Regions from separate parts of the Homo sapiens genome. Here region 2 is linked to region 1. The links are contacts of gene promoters, found by promoter capture Hi-C in blood cells and fetal thymus (Javierre and others, 2016). All regions are on one chromosome and are shown on one strand. The core of a region is centred on a gene start or on the middle of the fragment in contact, and the rest is flanking DNA. Distances in the headings are between cores, read along the strand shown.

Region 1 (6,511 bases), core at 1,783-4,282:
CGGGCCGCAGGTACAGGCAGGCTGGCAGGCCGGGCGCCAGGCTGCTGCGCTGGGTCGCGGCGCCGCGTTGCGCAGGGCCGCACAGGGAGCTGGCTCGGCCTCCGGACTCCTCGGGGGCGCCGTCGGGGCCCGCGGTCGCCGCCGCGCTCACAAACCGGTAGTCGTAGGCGAGCGGCTCAGGGGCCGCGGGGCTCGGGTGGGGACCTGGCGGCGCGGCGGCGGCAGGGTTGCCCAGCGCGGGCAGCTCGCGCACGTACTGCGCAGGCAGGTAGAAGGGGCGGCCGCCGGGCTCACGCCGCACGTGCCACCAGTGCTCGGTGCTGCGCCGCAGCAGCCGGTAGCGCTCATTCGGCCGGATGGCCACGCGGCGCCCGTCCTTGCCGGTGTACTCGAAGGGGTGCTCCACCAGCACGTACACGTCCCCCACCACGTCCGCCGCCATCGCAGCCGCGGCGTTTTCCTGCGGGCAACAAGAAGGAGGGCCGCGGAGGTCAAGACCACCGAGCCTGGAATAGCCCCGCACTCGGGGACAGACTTGGGTTCGAGTCCCGATCCTGCACTCGCCGTTCGCCTTCGGGCCTCAGTTTTCCCATCTCTAAAATGGGAACTTGCATAAAATCACATGTAAGGCTTCCATTCTTACACTCAGTGCTGGAATTAGGACAGCCCTTCGTTCTGTGGGGTTGATTCTAAGATTTGACCCTTGCTTCAGTCCTGCGGTGGGGAGATTGTGGGTAGTCTTGGTCCAAATCGACTGCGAGGGAAGCCTTGGCTTTAAAACGAGGGGTGATTGCCCGCTCTAAGGTCGACACCACGCTTGCTTAATAGTTGACTGCGCCTTAGTTTTCCGTCAGTCAAGTAGGAAGAACACCCCATTTACTGCCGCTCCCCGGCTCTGTCCCGCCTGGAAGCCTCCCGCCCGCAGAGAATCAGCAGAGGGTCTCGTAGCACTGCCTCCCTCCAGCAGCTTGCGCCCCGACCCCCTGGTCAGAGTTGGAATGTGGGCTCTGTAGGGGGCCGAGCGAACAGCTCTACCTGGGGGCTGTCGCTGCCCCCCTTAGTCCGAGGGCCTTGCTGTAGAGGCCTCCGCTGCCAATGCAGGGGAACCGGTTCTCTCGGTTTCTCTTTCCTTCCCCAGCTGCATCACCGCAGACGTGAGCCCGAGCCCGGCCCGCCCAGCCCGGCCCGCACCGCCCCCTGCTCTCCAGCTCTCACGCCGCCCCCCGAGAAAGGCCCTGCCCCTGTGGCCTGTCCACCTGCCCTGTGACCCCTACAGTGTCCCCACGAGTGGCTCCTGGAGAATGCACTCTGAGACAGTGACTATAAGTGCGGAGTCCCAGAGCAGGGCCACCCAAAGCTCTCCGGAGTGGTGGTCATAAGCCCCGCTCCCGCCCGGGCTTCGGGGTGTCAGGGATGGGGGAGAGCCTAACTAAATCTGTCTGCGCCCCTCCACCAAAGCCATGAGTCGGTTTTCTCCGGAAGTGCATGGCCCCTCCAAACTCCCACACTGACCACACCTCTTCCTGCCCCCTAAGGTGGCCCGGACCCGGGGCCAGGAGACCGCCGCTTGCCGAGGCAGAGGAGCAGGTTCCAACGGGGGCCCCAGCAGGGCTCCTCCGCCACTTTGTCAAGCGTTCCTCGACGAGGAAAGGGTGTAAACTGAGTCACTAAGCACGCTGGGCCCCGGAGGCGGGGTCATCGAGCTGCCCGGTGCTGAACCAACAAACCCCAAGCAGGACACTCCCCCGGCGCCCCCTCCCCTTGGACCCCGCAGCGCACTCACGTCGGCTGGGCGGGCCTCAGGGAGCCCATGGGCTGGGTGGGCGGAGCCGGCGGTGGCTGCAGGTTAGGCCCCTACCATCGCCCTGGGCGGGGTTTCCAGGGGCGAGGCCGGAGAGGCTGCGCGGAACAGGAGCTGGCAAGCAGAGCGAAGAGGGACAGGGACGCTCAGGAGTGCTGTCACCGATACCCAAAGCAGCCGTGTCTGGGTGGGGCGAGGAGGAGCCTGAATGCCTCTGCTGGGGACCTTGGGGGGCATTGGGACGAGGCCCAGAGCAGAAGGCCGGCACCTGGAGCCGGGACTGCTGCGTCTGAAGGGGCACTGGCAGGTCGCGAGCGGAGCCCAAGGAGGATGGGACCGCCCCCGCTCCGCCTTCCCCCTCTATTCCCCGCCCCCCCACCCCCCACCCCCCGGGATTTGCTGTCCGGGAGTGCCTGCGTCCCTCCTGTGCGCGGCTCTGGGAATGCCGGGCTGGGGCTGGTTGTCTCGTGCGGGCGTTCCTGTTCCCGGGGAGGTCATTTGCACCCTGAATCACCCACTGCGAGCCCTTCCAACCGGATTGCAAATCCGCCCGCTCCGGGCCCACCTCTTCCCTCACCAGGGCCTTTCCCGGAGCAGCCCGGCCGGGCCTGGAAAAACTCCGAGCGGGATTCCCAGCGCAGGGACGCCCACCGGAGCTCGATGTCTCGGGCTGGATAAGAAGGGGACCGGACCTCGGTTCCTTCCCCGACCCTGGGGAAACGCAGAGAAGGGGAGGGATTGGGGAAGCCGGGAGGATCCCTGGAGCGCGACAGCGCACCAGTCGCCAGGAGGTCCCCTGCGTCCACTGCCCAGGCGACTCAAGCTACAGGGGCGTCAACGCCTGGGTCGGCGCTGGGGGCCTGGGCCTGCTTCCCTCCAGCCCCCAGATGGAGGGCAGCCCTTCGCCTACCTTCTCCTCCCCGTGGGATGCGGCCCGCGCAGCTCCCGCCCCAGCGCGGAGACAAGGGGAGCAGGCGCGCGGAGCTCCCGGGTGCGGACCCGCCACCTGCCGCACCCTTCCCTTCCCAACCCTGCCCTTTCCCCACCCCCACCCCACTTCCCACCCCCAACCCCCGCTCGGCGCCCCACTCCCGACCCTGCCTGCCCGGGCACCTCGGGGCGTCCGCTCGCCGGCTTCGCCTCCACTTGCCCCGGCAGGCGCGCGTGGGCTCGGCGTCCCGCGCTCCCTCCTCGACTGTGCGGCTCCCGCGCTGCCGGGTTTCCTGTTCAACAATATAACCAGGGAGGCACCGGCGGAGAGCGCCGGGCAGAACTTCCTCCCGGACTGGGGCTGGGCTGCGGTTGCGAGAGACAATCCCCGGTGTCCTGGCTTCCTGTCCCCTCTGGGCCGGGCCAGCGCCTGAGGAGCGAAGACGCCACCCCCTCCCCTGCCTTTCCCGGGATCCTGGGCCGCACCTGGCTGTCTCCAGGGAGAAAGAGGCTGCGGGGCTGAGATGGTGGGACTGGGGAGGGCGGGAGCCTCCCCCGCAGGTTCGCCTGGCCAGATTGCCCTCCCACCATCCCCCACCCCCTCTTGATCCTTGTGGGGAAGGAGGGCCACCCTCCAATCCGTCCACAGGGTAAGCTCAGAACAACCTCCAGGAGTCCAGCCCCAGGGCCCTCCGCCTTGGGGGTCTTCTGTTGGAGAATTTTCTGCCTCTCTGGACAAGCAGCCTCGCCCTGATCTGAGCCTGCACTCACTCCAGACATTACAAGCCACAGCCCCAGCACACCCCCTGCCCTCAGGGGCCCCAAGGAACAGTTGTGCCTGTGGACCTGGCTGTGTGTGCCAAGAGCTGGCTGATTCAGGCCAGTGTTCTGGGAGGAAGAAGGGCCCGCATCCCAGGCCATGGCCTCTCTTGACACCACCTCCTGGGGACCCAGGGTTGGGTGGGAAGCTGAATCTGGCCACCCAGATTCAGAGGAACTCCCTTACCTCTATATCTTTGTAAGATATAGTAAGTAAGGAACTCCCTTACCTCTATATCTTTGTAAGATATAGTAAGTAAGGAACTCCCTTACCTCTATATCTTTGCCTCTGCTAGGCATTGCCCACCTGTGAGTCCACACTTCCTCTGAGAATCTGTGTGTCTGAGCCTTGGTGGCACCTTGGGACCCTCCAGGGTGGGCACACAGCAGAACTCAGCACTGGTCTTTGGTGCCCGACATGCTTAGAAAATAGTGGCTGGTGCCGGGCACGGTGGCTCACGCCTATAATCCCAGCACTTTGGGAGGCCGAGGCGGGCGGATCATGAGGTCAGGAGATTGAGAAACCCTGGCTAACACGGTGAAACCCCGGCTAACACGGTGAAACCCCGTCTCTACTAAAAATATAAAACATTAGCCGGGCGTGGTGGCGGGAGCCTGTAGTCCCAGCTACTCCGGAGGCTGAGGCAGGAGAATGGTGTGAACCTGGGAGGCGGAGACTGCCGTGAGCCATGATCGTGCCACTGCACTTCAGCCTGGGCGACAGAGCAAGACTCCGTCTCAAAAAACAACAACCAAAAAAGAAAAAAAGAAAATCGTGGCTGGAGGAATCTTCTCTCCCTCCCTACCTTTTAGGTCCCTCTCCACCTGCAGCACAGCCAGGCAGTGGCTGGCAGTGGTGATGGTCTTTGCGTGGGGTCAGGCAGGTATGATGCCCCACTCTGCTGCTTGGCGGCTGGTAGGCCTTGGGAGTTCTGCCTTATCTCTGCAGCTCAGATTTCTTTCCTGTCAATGGGATAGTAACACCCACTTCACTGGATTATTGGGAAGATTAAATGAGGTCCACTAAGCAGTGCTTACCACATGCCCAGCGCACACAATATATCAGCTATTTTTTTTAAGACAGAGTCTCACTCTGTCTCCCAGGCCGAAGTGCAGCGGCACGATCTTGGCTCACTGCAACCTCCGCCTCCGGGTTCAAGTGGTTCTCCTGCCTCAGCTTCCTGAGTAGCTGGGATTACAGGCACCCGCCATCATGCCCAGTTAATTTTTGTATTTTTGTAGAGACGGGGTTTCACCATGTTGGCCAGGCTGGTCTTGAACTTCTGACCTCAGATGATCCAACCTCCTCGGCCTCCCAAAATGCTGGGATTACAGGTGTGAGCCACCATGCCGGGGTACATCAGCTATTATGACTACTTACATTATATGATAAGCTCTTGGGGGTTGGATTGGAATCTCCAAACCACCTGTCCTCCTTCAGAGAGAAGAGGAAAAGGGGAAGTCTCAGCTACTCAGGAGGCTGAGGCAGGAGAATTGCTTGAACCCGGGAAGTGGAGGTTGCAGTGAGCCAAGATCACGCCACTGCACTCCAGCCTGGGCATTGGAGTGAGACTGTATCCAAAAAAAAAAAAAAAAAAAAGGGAGGGGAGAAGGGGAAACAAGTGGCCTCAGGGGCGCTTTGCTGAGGCTGGAGAGGGCCTGAACCCACCGGCAGGGCAGCACCAGGTCACGTGCTGTGGCCCTCCTCTGGGCCTCCCTCTCCCAGTTTCTCTTCTCTTCTCCGGGCCTACCATCTACTGTCCTGGAGGGAGGTGAAGCCCTTGGGGGAAGCTGGGGCACCTAGATTGGCAGAGGGTGCCACCTTGTAATCTGAAAGGGGCCTTTAAGGACAGGAAATCTCAGACCTGAATGTTGTCTGTTTCCATCCCATTTTACTGCAACCTGATTTCCCTGAGAATTAAGTCTGTTTCCTGCTCCTGTTCTTAAAATGGACAGTGGTGTGGGCCTCCCCTTGGAGGGGTCCCCTGGGCTTCTCCTGGAACTTCTGAGGAAGGTCAGCAGCCAAGTAAAAGTCATTTTGAGCCCTAAAACCATGAGCCCTGAATCGGGGGATCCACTTAAATAACCCTTCTTTCCTGAGCCCCATCTCTCCTTTATTTCTCCTCTGAGAAATGTCCCCTGTATCCTGAGGTTTCACATGATCCAGTGTCAAGGGTCTGTGTTTTGACATTTAAGTCACAGGAAAAGAAGCCACCGGCGTGGGATCAGCTTGAGTTGTTATACAAGTGTGGGTACACCTCCCCAGAGACCCTGAGATCCTACCCCAGGAAGAGCCTGACTGCTGGGCTTGGCAAGGTGGTTTTCTTACTCTCTTCTCCCTGCCCACTCCTGGCATGCAAGCCCTCTGCCTACAAGTGTTTGCCACGGACCTCCCAAGCCTTCCCCCGTGCCAGGGACTAACATGAGGGTAGGGGACCCTGACAGATGGTAACAGATGGCTGGTGGTCTCCCCCCTGGCCGTGGCAGTGTTAGAATTCAGAAGCCAGACCAGTGATGAGAAAGATCAGGTCTTTACTGCAAAATCATTCAAAACTCACACGGCAGCAATTCCTTCAATACATTGCAAAGACTCCTCAGGGCCAGAGCCCTGCTCACTAGGAACAGTGTATTGCATAAAATAACATTTTAAAAATAGTGTGGGCACTACCTTTCTGAGGGAGGGGAGGCGGGAAGAGTCAATGCATCTGAAAGCACTGGCAGCTTCTGGGGAACGGGCCCCCCAGGGCCTCAAACCTGCTGCCTCCGAGGGCACCTTCGGGGAGAATCCTCACAGGCCCAAGCCCTCCCCAGGCCAGGCTCCTGCCCACTCAGGGATGGGGCAATGAGGGCTCTGACTAGGCTGGGCTTGTGGTGGAGCGTTAATGTGGGCCATGGCGGTGCATAACCCAGCTCCTGGCTTAGGAGGCATTGGCGTCTGGGCACAGGTGTGTGCCATGACCG
Region 2 (6,894 bases), core at 1-2,500, 520 kb before region 1:
CTGGAGGATGAGCAGATGTGGGCTTTTGCCTTAACTCATTACTAAGGTGCCTTATCAGGGTTGGTGCACCTGCTTCTGCTCACACAGGCGCATCCACAAGCATACACTCACTGTTGCACACACACACACACACACGCACATGTCCTCCTGCACTTGAAGGCACACATGCATGTCCTGTCAGCTCAGTGAAGCGCCATGCCCCTGGGGATTCCTCTGATCCCAGGTAACCACCTTTTGAAATGAATTTTATTATGACCACCGCTTCACAGCTGTGCAAGTCAAAGTAACTTGATGGGGGTCACAAGCTGGTGGCAGGCAGTCACCTGTGCTTTGCGCCCAGACCTGCCTGCTCTTTCCCTCACTTTCTTCACCCCAGAATCCAATCTCCCTCATGGACATCAACCTTCTCCGCTTCCAACTCCTCCTTTATATGGACACAGGCTCAGAATAGGTGAGCTCGCTGCCCACAGTCACAAAGCCCAGCCATGAATGAAACACAGGGGCCCCGCTGCTCCTGCACTGCTTTCCCCAGTAGGGAGGTGCTGAGGGGACCCTGGACTCCTGGCAGAAGGCATGCGGGCATCAGATCCCCGGGGCCCTGGGCCTGTTTCTGGTCCCTCCCATCATGTTGGGGGGCAAGGATAGTGCCCCATCAAGAGGTAGGGAGGCCCAGGGAGCAGGGAGGTTCGGCCCCTCCCTGAGACTTCTCGGGCACTCCTTCTTGGGGATTCAGCCCCTTCTGCTCACAAGGCCCCCCTTCCCCATCCCCTCCTCACTTCTGCCTCACAGTGGCCAGGTCCTGTGCCAGATTGTCCCTCTCAACCTCCAGCCGGGCGCTGTTGGCGGTGAGTTGATCGAGCCGCAGCCGCAGCTCTCGCAGCTCAGCCTGGTAGACGTCTGCCAGCTTGGTGGGCTCCTTGGCCCGCAGCTGGTTCAGCTCAGCAGCCAGCGCCTTGTTTTGCTGTTCCAGGAAGCGAACCTTCTCGATGTAGCTGGCAAAGCGGTCATTGAGCTCCATCATCTCTGCCCGCTCACTGGCCCGGGTCTCCTTGAAGCCAGCATTGAGTGCCCCAGCCAGGGAGAAATCCACCCGGGTCGGGAGTGGAGGGGGCATTCGAGCCAGGGAGAGGCGGGTGCCAGGACCCAGACGGCGGCCAGGAGCCAGGCCCCCCACCATCATCTCCCCTGAGGAGACGTAGGAGCGGCGAGCAGCGGAGGTGATGCGTCTCCTCTCCATCCTGCTCTGGCTCTGCTCGCTCCTGGGATGCGAGGGCTTTATGAAGGAGTGGGCTAGACTGGCGATGCCCGGGTGCCCCTGGCAACACCCCCTGGCATAGCCTGAGGGGGTGGGGTTGGGCCGCAGCCCAGCTATGGGGAGAGCTCCCCTCACCCCACTGAGGTCACTGTGCCCAGAGGCAGAGCTTCCTGGGCACGCCAACTCCTGCATGAGGCAGGTGGTACCTGGAGCCAGACCATGGGTCTGGGGCCCTGACCGCTGAAGCAAGAGGACCCTCTCTCTAGGAAGGTGGGTCAAGAAAGGGTTGGTTGGACCATGATGAATACTTACAATTATTATGCATCAATTAAAAAGGAAGGAAAGGGCTGAGTGGGGTGGCTCATGCTTGTAATCCCAGCACTTTGGGAGGCTGAGGCTGGAGGATTGCTTGAGCCCAGTAGGTTGAGGCTGCAGTGAGCTGTGTTTGCGCCACTCCAGCCTGGGCAACAGAGAGAGACCTTGTCTCACAAAAAAAAAAAAAAAAAAGGGAAGGAAGGGCTGTACCAGATGACCTCTGACCTGCTTTCCAACTTTTTGATTTCATAACCCAGGCATTATCTCACTCAGCTGTAAGTGCCTGCAAGGTGCTGGGAATTTGGCGAAGAATGAACCTGTTCTGTACCCTCAAGGGCCACCTCATTTCCTACTAGGCCTCATTCCCAGCAGACTCCTGGAGTCCTTCCCTTGAACACAGATGTCCCACATTCCTGCTCTCTGCCCATTCATTCCCTGGAGTTCTGGGGCTGGGGGCTGGGATTGGACACCAGCCCTTTGTCTAAGGGTCAATCATGGCCTCTATGTGGCAGTGGAGGTCCTGATAGGGCAAGAGGGGGCCGGCACTCTCTTGCCTTATCAGGACTTTAGCCCCTGGATCTGTCCCTCCAGGTCACCCCTTCCTTGTCTGGCCTCCCTGTGCCTCTCTCCCAGAGACCAGGCCTTGACAGCTCCACAAAGCCGTTACACATGAGCTGGCTGTGCTGGCTCGTCTTTATTCCTGCAGCGCCCCGTTTCCCTGGCCACCCCTCCGTCTCCCACTGGAGATTTATTTCCTCGAGTTCCCACACATCAGCCTGGAGAGATGGGAAGAACCTCTGGGGATGGATGGGTTTGGAAACGCTGGAGCCACTGGGCCCAACTAGGAGCCTGAGACCTGGGCCCTGTTGTCCCTGGAGACTTCAGGTCCATCTACGCCCTCCACTCTGGTCCCACAGGGTCAGAACCCTGCCCAGTCCCCTCACCCATTTGTGTCCTTGGACTTCTGGGAAGCAGACAGCCCTCCTCTCCCCCCCTGCCACCCACTGTCCATGCCTGGGCATCCCCTGATCCCCTTTCCTGGGCACAGGCTGAATAGAGCCTTGTTCTCCACCGCCGGTGGCGCCACACAGCAAGGGCAGCCCCTAGGGGGCTGTGCTGCTTTTATCCCAAGATGCCAGGCTGTCAGGCTGGGGTGCAATGCAAGCCCCCTGCTCAATGGGCTTCTCGGAAGGCATTTGAGGGGGGCTGGGGTGCGGCGGGAAGCAGGCACTGTGCCCACCCCGAACATTGTGTCTGTGCCAAGGTGAGTCATTCACTGGGCATGAAGAGGAGGCCCTGGGGGGCGGCCAGCCCAATGCTGCCAGGTCTGCTTGCAGACAAGGCCTGGCTGTCTGCCTCCTCCCCAGCTCACAGAGCCAGCTCAGGCCCCCGAGCCTCTGTCAGAGCAGCGTCCCCTACTCCACACCAGGATATGTTCTTTTTTTTTTTTTTTTTTTTTTTGTCTTTTGAGACAGGGTCTCACTGTTGCCCAGGCTGGAGTGCAGTGGCGCAACCACGACTCACTGCAGCCTCAACCTCCCAGCCTTAAGTGATCCCCTCACCTCAGCCTCCTGAATAGCTGGGACTACAGGTGTGTGTCACCACACGTGGCTGATTTTTTAACTTTTTTTGTAGAGATAGGGTCTTGCCATGTTGCCCAGGCTGGTCTAGAACTTCTGGGCTCAAGTGATCCTTCCACATCAGCCTCCCAAAGTGCTGGAATTACAGTTGTGCGCCACTGCGCCCAGCCCAGGGTATGCTCTGCATTTGGACATGTGATGGACAGACTGCCTCCTGAGGTCTCCCTCTGTGAGTCCCAGCACAGAGAGGGAGGTGGGAGCTCCTTAGGCTCTAGTCACATCTGACCTGGGCGTAAGCAGTGACATAGGAAAGAGCATCTTGAAGACGGGGTGAGCGCCCAGTGACCTTTGATCCTGCTATGAACTGGGGACCTGGGGAAGGACAGGAGGCTTTAAAGGAAGAGCAAGGCTGGGCATAGTGGCTCATGCCTGTAATCCGAGCACTTTGGGAGGCTGAGGTGGGCGGATCGCTTGAGTCCAGGAGTTCGAGACCAGCCTGGGCAATGTGGTGAAATTTTGTCTGTACAAAAAATACAAAAAAATTAGCCAGGTATGGTGGTGCACTACTGTGATCCCAGCTATTCGGGAGGCTGAGGTGGGAGGATCACCTGAGCCCAGGAGGTGGAGACTGCAGTAAGCCAATGTCGCATCACTGCACCCCAGCCTGGGTGACAGAGACTCTGTCTCAATAAATAAAAAAATAAAATAAAATAAACAAAATAGAAAAGGAAGACTGGGGATAAGCTCTTGTCTGAACTCTGTCTCATCTCTGTGGCTAGGAGTGGCCCGCCTTTCCAGGCTGCCCAGCAAGTCACAGCATGTAGCCTTCCCTTTTGGTTCAAGGGAAGTCTAGTTAAAATAAGGGCAAAGCTGTCCTAGAGAGAAAAGATGTGATGAGCAGGAGGTGCCTGTCATTGAAGCTCAGTGAACTGTCCCTGTGTATGTGAGACACAAGCTTGTTTCAGCATCAGCAGTTGGAGTCCCCCAGCTTTTGCCATCAGCCACCTCCGTGGACCCCTGTCATAGGCCCAGGTGCATCCTCCACCCCTTCTCAACCCTCAGACCTTTCCTCACACTCAACCCTTAACTATCTTGTTTTTGTTTTTTGAGACAGGGTCTTGCTCTGTTGCCCAGGCTAGAGTGAAGTGGTGCTATCACAGCTCACTACAGCCTCAATCTCCCTGGCTCAAGCGATCCACCCACCTCAGCCTCTCTAGTAGCTGGGACCACAGAGATACACCACCATGCCCAGCTCATTTTTGTATTTTACTAGAGACAAGGTTTCGCCATGTTGCCCAGGCTGGTCTCGAACTGTTGGGCTCAAGTGACCCTCCCACCTCTTCCTCCCAAAGTGCTGGGATTACAGGCATGACCTATACAACCGGTACATATAGATCACGCCTGGCCAACCCTTAACTATCTAAAGGTGTCTGCACAGAGAACCAAAGATACAGACAGATTTGGTCGTGGTTGTGTTCCAAACTTTCATTATCTTTTTAATTAAATATTCATTGTAGAAAGGTCAGAAACTATAGATAAGCAATACAAAAAAATGTAATTAGCCATCATTTTGCCACCTGGAGATAAACACTACCAGATTTTTTCCACACATATATAATCATTTTTTTCAAAATGGGCTCATGCCGTACAAATTATTTTGTAATTTGCTTTTCTCACTCAACAATATGTTGTGAACATCTTTCCACATCAATAAATATTTGTCTGCATCATCATTTAACAGCTGCATGATTTTCCACTATATGCATTCATGTACCAAGCCCTAGTGGTGGACAGTATGACAGTATGTTCTCTCTCTCTCTTTTTTTTTTTTTAGAGACAAAGTCTCACTTTGCCACCCAGGGCCAGAGTGCAGTGGCACCATCATAGCCCACTGCAGCCTCAGACTTCTGAGCTCAAGCAATCCTCCTGCCACAGCCTGCCAAGGAGCTGGGACTACAGGCACATGACAGTGTGCCCAGATAATTTTTTTTTTCAGAGACCAAGTCTTGTTATGTTGCCCAGGCTGGTCTTGAACTCCTGGCCTCAAGTGATCCTCTGGCCTCAGCCTCCCAAAGTGCTAGGATTACAGATGTGAGCCGCTGTGACTGTCCTCTCTCTGTTCTAAACCACACTCTGATTTGCATCTGCTGCAGGCAGACACAGCAAACAGAGAAGGGTAGGCCCTCAGCCCGTCCAGCCTCCACCCAAACCCCCCATCCTCCTAGCCTGGCTCAGGCCCCATTCTCTGGGGTGCCTCCTCTCCTGCTTCCCCAAATGGAAGGCCCCAACTTCTAAAGCCTCTGGCCAAACCCTAGACTGCCTTCTAGACTGCACAGCAGGATAATACCAGCCATGGAGAGAGAAGTCTGGATGCCCTTTCAAGGAGCCTACAGCCAAGCTGTGCCTGCTTCAAGCTGAGGTGAGGACAAGATGACCTTCCTGAGCCCCTCCCTCACATCAGAATCTGCTAGATGACCTTCTGCTTACAGGGTAAAGCCCAGATGCCTCCTGGGACAGACCAGCCCCACATGTGGCATCAACCCACACACAGGGTGCCTGGTGTTTGCCAAATAGGCCAGCCTCTAATTCAAACGGCAGTTTTGCCACATGACTGCTGCCCGCTGGTTCTGCTTGGGCCCTTGGCCCTGGCCCAGTGCCTGGCACAGCGTGGTGGTCAGCAAGCTGGGTGAAGAGAACACAGTCTCTCTGGCTGAGCCTTGGTGACCAGCAAGTCTGTTCATCCATGGCCTGTCCCGAGGAAGGGAACTGAGCCTGGTGGCCACTAGATGGTGGTGCTCAGCTGGTCAGGTGTGAGCCGCCACAGCCACCGCAGTTTAGAGGCAGGGAGAAAGCTGTAGGCGGAGTTTTCTAAAACCCAAATTTGTTTCACCCAGGGGCATCACCCGCTTTGTTCTCTAGACTTGACTCTGACTGCTATAGCACTGTCCTCAAGGAGAGGGAGCAAAGCCTTGGCCACTCAGTAGCTGTGCAGTCTTTGATGACTTTAAGAACCTTGCCTGAGTCTTCATTTCCACGTCTGTAAAATGGGGATTCAACCATGCCTGCTCCCCAGGTAGTTGTAAGAATAAAATCAGTGAAAGCTGAACACAGCAGGTGCTTGACAAATTAGAGCTTCCATTTCATAACACCTACCAGGAGCTTTACCTATCGACATGTTAGCGGATCTGCGATGGGGTTGGCGGAGGGGCAGGAGCTGGGACCTCTGAAAGGGCTTCTGTATCCTGTTAACTCCTTTGGGAGTATGTGGACATCCCTCCCCCAAGGGCAGTTACTTGGCAGTGTGGACAGGACAGAGAGCAGCAGCTAGTGAAGCATGGGGGAGAGCCAGCACTGTCTACCCTCAGACCACGAGTTGTTGGTGGCTTCATCTCCCAGGGGACACAGGCAAGTTATCTCCGCCGGCCCTGGAGACTCAGAGTACTGAGACTGCTTTCCCACCTGCTTTCTTGGCTCTCTGACTCCCCCAGTGGGTGCTGTTTTCTCCATCCTCACCCCTCCCCATCCCTAGACTTGAGCCCCACAACTCTATCCCGTTTGAAAAGCTCTGTGTGTCACCCCTGCTTGGGTGTGGGTCTCATTTGCATCTCAGCCTGAAGCTTTACAAGGAGAGGGGCCATGCCTTTCCCCCAACAGATGGGGACTTCCTGATGCTAGGACCTATGTCTTCCCAGCAAACTGGGGTCTCTCTAAGGACAGTGTTTCCCCCAACCCCAGGCTAAAGCA

The links. Contacts are between HindIII fragments. The CHiCAGO score rates a contact against its expected background, and 5 or more counts as called.
Region 2: a contact is called between the fragment with the promoter of GFAP here and the fragment with the promoter of ARHGAP27 in region 1, in 1 of 17 cell types (neutrophils). The highest score is 5.2, in neutrophils.

What each region holds. Positions count from the first base shown.
Region 1 is chr17:45,429,838-45,436,348 of GRCh38, forward strand. ARHGAP27 (Rho GTPase activating protein 27) reads right to left here and starts at 3,033. Exons shown (of 20, transcript NM_001282290.2): 1 at 2,915-3,033; 2 at 2,379-2,512; 3 at 1,784-1,915; 4 at 1-460. The coding sequence starts at 442. PLEKHM1 (pleckstrin homology and RUN domain containing M1) reads right to left here. Exons shown (of 12, transcript NM_014798.3): 12 at 6,063-6,511. RefSeq lists enhancers at 1-317, 318-818, 6,002-6,511. The HindIII fragment of the contact is 25,899 bases long and covers 1-6,511 here.
Region 2 is chr17:44,914,250-44,921,143 of GRCh38, forward strand. It overlaps GFAP (glial fibrillary acidic protein), which reads right to left and starts at 1,251. Exons shown (of 9, transcript NM_002055.5): 1 at 777-1,251. The coding sequence starts at 1,237. LOC105371793 (a long non-coding RNA gene) reads left to right here and starts at 4,470. Exons shown (of 2, transcript XR_934781.3): 1 at 4,470-5,569. RefSeq lists an enhancer at 5,784-6,283. The HindIII fragment of the contact is 16,653 bases long and covers 1-4,103 here.